Regions from separate parts of the Homo sapiens genome. Here region 2 is linked to region 1. The links are contacts of gene promoters, found by promoter capture Hi-C in human tissues and cell types (Jung and others, 2019). All regions are on one chromosome and are shown on one strand. Each heading gives the region's core, a stretch centred on a gene start or on the middle of the fragment in contact. The rest is flanking DNA. Distances are from core to core; before and after follow the strand shown.

Region 1 (3,401 bases), core at 410-2,909:
CAGCTCACTGCAACATTATTTATAATAGCAAACAACAAAATGAAACGGGGTGGGGGCATAACATTCCCAACACTAGGGAAGTGAATCATGGAACACCAGGCAGCCATTTTATAATTGTAGACTAATGAGAAACAATGTTGATTAGATATTAAGAGAAAACACGCATGTTACAGTAATACCTATTATTTCATATTGTCGTAATACATTTATACATATATATGTAGGTGGAAAAAATCTTGAAGGGAATGCACCAAGCTGTTCAAAGTGATAACTCATGGGTAATGGGGTTATGGGTGGTCTTTTCCTTTTTGCTTATCTATATTTTCTAAAATAAACATGTATTAAGAAAAATCAATATGAATTCAAAAAATATCAACTTAACTAAAAAAAACCCCTTAATTTCAGGTGAATATGTCAGCAAGTTATGAAGTTATGTGAGGGCTGGGGAAGGAAAGGAGAGGTTTTCACAGTTTGATCTAATTCAAAACTAAATCTGTGAAATACTCATTTCCTAAAATCACTCAGGATAAGTGTGTGATATTTTGGTGGACATATTTTAGTTCCTGGGCTTTGACATTAATTGTAACAGACTTTTAAAGCGTAGCTCTTTTCTCCATTAAAAAGAAATGAGGCCGGGCATGGTGGCTCACCACTGTAATTCCAGCACTTTGGAGGCCAAGGCGGGCGGATCACCTGAGGTCAGGAGTGTGAGACCAGCCTGGCCAACAGGGTGAAACCCTGTCTCTACTAAAAATACAAAAATTAGCCGCGTGTGGTGGCACGCACCTGTAATCCCAGCTCTTCAGGAGGCTGAGGCAGGAGAATCGCTGGAACCCAGGAGGCAGAGGTTGCAGTGAGCTGAGATTGCGCCACTGCACTCCTGCCTGGGTGACAGTTGAAATGGAATAAACTGAGTTATCTCTCTTCAACTTGATTTAAATCATTAACCCAAAACTCAATGCCTTAAAAACCAATGACTAAAATCCTCATTAAAATGAGTGCACATGCCAATACTAAGAATGTTGTGTCATTTTTCATCAAAAGTAATTACCTCAACATAAGAGGAGACAAGTACGCATGGAAGTAAACCCAAAATCCCAACTAATGAACACCGTTCTGAGATCAGTGGCCACAGGGAATAATTCTGCAATTTCCATCACACGCAAAGGTAACAACCCCGAGGTCTTATTTTTATAGAATATCAAGAACAAAATCTTCCAAAAGGCACACGATGCCAAACTAAAAATAAAGAGCGAAAACCCAAAAAGTCGCGCTCAATTCCTTCTGAAACCTATTCGCCTCCTACCCCTGTCCCATCCTCTGGCGCTGGCGGGTCCTCGTCCCCGTTTTCCCCACCGCAAGTCCTGGAACCTCCGCTTAACTCTTTTCTCGGCGGCTCCGCCCCGGCCCCGCCCCAGCCATGCCTTGGCCCCGCCCCGTTCGCCGTTTATTGGCTTCTCCCAACCCCTGCCGGTGGGTGACAAGCCGGGAAGCTTGGAGGGGTCTATTGCGTACGCCCAAGGCGCTGGGCCTGGAGCAGGAGAAAGGGAGTGGAGGCGCGTCGGAGACTATGAAGCGCGGCATTCGGCGGGATCCTTTCCGGAAGCGGAAGCTCGGCGGGCGGGCCAAGAAGGTCCGGGAGCCCACGGCGGTTAATTCTTTTTACCGTGAGGCTTCACTTCCCTCGGTCTGGGCTTCTCTGAGGCGGCGAGAGATGGTCAGGTCTGGAGCTCGACCGGGCCAGGTGAGGGCTGAGGACCTGAGGAGTCCGCTGTGGGGATGGAGAGGGACAGGGGGGTTTTCGGGCCAGGAACTTGTAAAACTCTGCTCGAAAAAAGACAAAGACAATGCGGCGACATTAAAGTGCTGGGACAGAGGTGCAGGGAACACCTAATCTTCCCGTCGTAACACGGCCGCTCGGTCTCTAGATGTTTCTGTTTAAATCGTCGTAGCCCTAGTCTAGAGCGCCGGCTTTGGGGTCAGGCCCGGGTTCGAGTCCCAGCCTTCGCCGCTGCGTCGAGTGACTTAACCTCTCCTAGCTTCAGTCACCTGCAGATTGAGAGTCTACTACTTTTTACTGCTCAGAACTTCCTATTCCTTAGCTGCAAAATAGGCAGAAATAAGCATAAAATCCTGTCTCAAAGAATTGAGAAGGTTAAATAAGAGAACCCGGTAAAAACATCGATCACACAGTTGTTGTAGACATACAACAAAATTTAGTTCCCTTTAAAACACGTAGTTTGCCACCATCTTAATGATAACAGCAGCCAACATTTAGATAGGACTTATGTGGCAGATGCTACTGTAAGTGCTTTTATGTATTACATAGAATAACTCATTTAATAGTCACGATATCCTTATGAGGTAAGTACTATTATCCCTATTTTATATATGAGGAAATCGAGGGCTGGAGGATTCAAATAACTTGGCAGTTACACAGCTGTGGAAACAAGATTCAGACTCACAAAACTGATGCCAGAGTCCATTCTTCTTTTAAACATTTTACCTAGTAGATGTATGACTTTGAACAAACCACTTTTCTGAAATTTAGGTTCCCACCTCACAAATAATAACTCACAGGGTATGGATTAAGTGAAAATGAAAGACCTTAGCACACTGTAAGTCATTCTACAAAGGCAGTATTATCTTGTACTTGTTGGTAGGAGATATGACTACTAAGAAATGCTTATATGATTCTCAAATAGCAAAATTAAAAGTTTAATGATAATAACCTCGTAGAAGTAAGTGTAAAATAAAGCAAACTGATTCTCCTGTATTGTGATTAGGACACTCCTTTTGGAGAGCAGCTTTGCAGTTTGTATCAAGGGTTATTAAATTGCTAATAACCTTTCACCAAATAATTTTCTTTTTAATCCTAAATATAAAAAGGCTGTTTTCAGTAGATAGAAAGGCTTATTCCAGGTTTGTTTTTTTAATTGTGAAAAATATGAAGCAAACCAAGACCATTATTATATTACTTCCACTGAAGGAAATATTATACAACCATTAAAAATTTATGAATATGAAAAAGATTTAAAAGTAGAAAACACAGGATTTAAAATTGCAAATATCTAGGTATTATGACTAAGTAAAAAATGCATATGAAAAAAGATTGGAGGCCCCAATAGCAAAGAACACATCTAGTACCTAGATCTTGGTTTCCACGTACCACTGTCCACTAAGGAGTCATGGCTTCTTGGAGAAATGACCAACTCCAGGGCTGAGCAGGGGTAATATAAGAAGAGCATGGACACATCAAACTAAAAAGCTTCTGCACAGCACAGGAAATGATTAATGGAGTGAAAAGGCAATCTACAGAATGGGAGAAAATATTTCCAAGCCATGTATCTGATAAATAATATCCAAAATACATATAAGGAATTTCTATAACTCAAAAGCAG
Region 2 (3,401 bases), core at 282-2,781, 50 kb after region 1:
ATTTGGGGATCTGGTGGTGGTGTTTTTTGTTTTTTTGTTTTTTTTCAGTTGAGGATTACCAGGCGAAGTTGGGTATTCTTAAAATGTCATAGAGTGATAGTAAATAGGAAGGATTAGAGGAGGGAGAGACTGGAGACCATTTAGAAAGCTGTTGCAGTAGTTCAGACATAATCCTTTGGCAATAAAAGTGAAAAAGGAGAGGCAAATTGACGAAAATTTTTCAGTCAGCTGGGTGACCAAATAGGAACTACAGAGGATAGAAAAATCAAAGATGACTCCAAGGTTTTCAGTTTAATCAGTTTGAGACACACTGAGCGATGTCTAAAATGAAAAGTCAAGTTCTTAGTTAAGTTCGAAGTTGTCTTCATTAGAATAAAAAGGCGAGGAGAGTCCATTCTCAGTCGTCGTCTTTAGATCATCTCAGCAGGAGTCAGCATTACTGCCTCATCGTAGTCTCAGAAGGGTCAGGCTGGTCCCAGATCCCAGCCCTCTCAGCCCTTTCAGATGTCCCAGAGTGCAAAAAGCGTATTAGTAGATGTCCAGAGTATCCCTAACCTCTGACACACTGAAATTCGTGTCTCCAGATAAGTATTGAGCATGGAGTGAGAACCATCCTCTAGCATTTTGTCACTATTTTACGGTCTTTGATCTGTGGAGGTAATATACAACCCTTTACAATGAATTTAGTAGTTGTGAACACCATTGAAGATAAAAGGTAGAATCTGATGATATTGGACCAAGTGTAGAGATCCTAGGGGCAGGGCTAAAGAACCAAAGAAGTACTTACCACATGTTCTTCCCTTATTCCCACCACCCCTGGAGTTTAGTAAATCTTTCAGAAACCTTTATTTTCACTGATGGTGGCATTTTACTTGTCAAGTGCCTTAAAAGTGATAAAGGCCTGCTCCAACTACATGGAAAGTAGGGCAGCATTGTAAAACCTGCTTAGGTAAAAAGGGCATGCAGCTTCATCACAGCTGACCAGGTAGGTAACTAGTGCTCACATTCCCTCAGCTAAAGATTCATTCACTCAGTGAATGAAATGAAAGCTCTAATATGTGCCAGTTACTATTATAGGCTCTGAGAAGACAGCAATAAACAGGACAGACATTCTGTCCTTAAAGAGCTTATGATACAGTGGGACACAAGCAAAGGAACATATAGTCAGTTCTGTGAAGAAAAATAAAGCAGGGTAAGGGAAAAAAGAGTGATAACGTTGGCTTAAGTTTTAATTACTAGGATAACAGGCCCCTTCTCAAAAATAATGTTTAAGGGTCCAGAATTTAAGCAACCACTAGGGAAAGTTGGGTTTGATTTGTAAGTTAACACTCCCTTAATCATTTTTCCAATGTTAGTTCTAGATTTCCTTTTGCTCCGAATTGCTTAAACATGTGGGTTCTAAGACTATAGCATACCTTAACACACACAATTCAAAGCCCCTTAACTTTTCTGGATGTATTAATATTACCACTTGTAGAGAACCGGGCACTATTTTATTTAAAGCTGTTGTCTTGAGCTAACCCTCCCATAGAATTACCAGAGATGATAAGATCTTAGACTTCTGAAGGGTTTAAAAGTTAACTTTTTGAAAGGACTATAGAAATAATCTCACTGTTATACCCAAAGAAAAGAACTGTTCTACAGTGATACTACTGGATACCTACTACTGGAAGATTCCAAGCACACCAGGGGTATTCCTTTTACCTGGACGGCCTTTTGCCCAAGCTCCTCCTGACAAATTTTTATTTATTCTTGAAATCCACAGTACTACTTCTGTACCTTGCAGATATTTCTAGTGATGTCTTTATCAGTTTACGTATCTGTCTTTCCTACCCTCTACTCTTCTTGAGGATAGGGACCAGGATTGATTCATTTTCAACTGCCCTCATGACCCTTGGTGACTATCATATAGTTTGTACTTAATAACTATTGTTGGACCTAACTAAATCTCTGCAGATGATCACCTAGGCATAACTTGATTTTCTGTTGGTGTTAAGTTCATGAAACAGCTTGTTAATAGTTTTATTACACACATCTAAGTTCCTAGCATTAGCCTCCCTGTGCCTTTTATTCTTCATTCAGTTACTGACTTCTGAAACCAAATTCACTTACTGGCAAACATTTGCACACTTCTGCTTGTGCTGTGGAGAAGCCACAGATTCTTAAATATTTAGGACAGAAACTTTTTTTTTAACCATGACACTAATGCAGAGTAATCTATCCCACCAGCCTGCCTCACCAGTTTTTGGGAGGGATGAACGTAAGCAAAGCACTGGAAAACTGCAGGGCACTGTACAGTCTGTGACTTATGACAATATTTAAAGAGTCCTCACCATCTTGCTTGCCCTCTTCTGATGTCCACCGGTTTGTCAGTGAGTCCCTTAAAATGTAAATCCAGCAATGAACTTCAGATGTGATCTGATCCAGGCGGACGACCATTAGATTGTCATTTTCTATAATCTTATAGTAGTTTTAAAATGGACAAAGGTTGAGTTGGCTATCTTAGCCATCACGCTGCAGATCATATTAGGGCTGTAGTTAGTTTCCCAATAATATTCACATTGTCATTCTTGGTGTTGAGTGGCACCATGTTAGGGCAGCTGGGGCAGGAAGTCATGGGTGGCCATTTTCATCTAGCTAGACATGAGCATTTCCTCGAAGACTAAGGTTCTAACTAGATAAGTGGTCTCAGCTGCTTCTAAAGGAAGAGCTCAAGTTTACCACAAACTCTCAGTGCTTGTTCTCCTTGAAGCCAGGTCTGCTTTTAGAGGCCATGAATAATGAAATATGAAAATTATCATGTGGAAACTGAAATCAGACATATTTAAAGATACTTGCTTAAGGCCGCACACCTAACACCTTAACCAGATGTTGTGATTCTCAGTTGCCTTTCTTCATTATGTTGTCTTCCTGATGACAGCTCAGTCTCATGACCACTGGAAACTTTAGGGCTCCAAATCTGTCACCAGAACCTAGCTCTGTGCCATTCTCTCTCTACTAGCATGGTCTAATAATAAGGAATTCCCTTTGGGATTTGTTCTGAGGATTAAATAAAATCACATGTGAAAATGTTTTGCAAACTACAAACACTAAGTGGATGATAATGATTACTAATTACATGTAGTTGGTCTATGTGTATGTATGTGTGTGTACTATAATAGACACTTAAGTTCTTACTTTTGCTTTATTAAAGGCACACAGTGTTCTTAAAATCTGTTTAGCATGTGACATAATGCTAGTAAAACAATTTCCCCACCTGTCACTTGGCCATTTCCACCAAAGTCATTACTAAAACTTGTTTTAAAGTAGACGGGTTTTTCTCCCATCGACACTGGCATTCAAAGTGAGCTCTGACATTTCCAGGACCCCAGCATTATCTTCTGCTCAGCCCAAGGGTAAGA

What was found. The method cuts DNA at HindIII sites, captures the fragments that hold promoters and counts their contacts. A contact is called where the count stands out against the background at its distance.
Region 2: a fragment that was not itself captured here is called in contact with the fragment with the promoter of CCDC14 in region 1 in 1 of the 25 tissues and cell types used here (thymus).

The regions. Positions count from the first base shown.
Region 1 is chr3:123,959,487-123,962,887 of GRCh38, reverse strand. It overlaps CCDC14 (coiled-coil domain containing 14), which reads left to right and starts at 1,659. Exons shown (of 13, transcript NM_001366335.1): 1 at 1,659-1,744. The coding sequence starts at 1,715. RefSeq lists a silencer at 1,341-1,651. The HindIII fragment of the contact is 4,558 bases long and covers 1-2,381 here.
Region 2 is chr3:123,909,365-123,912,765 of GRCh38, reverse strand. It overlaps a transcript of CCDC14 not described here. Among named protein-coding and RNA genes, the nearest start is that of MYLK, 27 kb to the right of the region's middle. The HindIII fragment of the contact is 6,426 bases long and covers 1-3,401 here.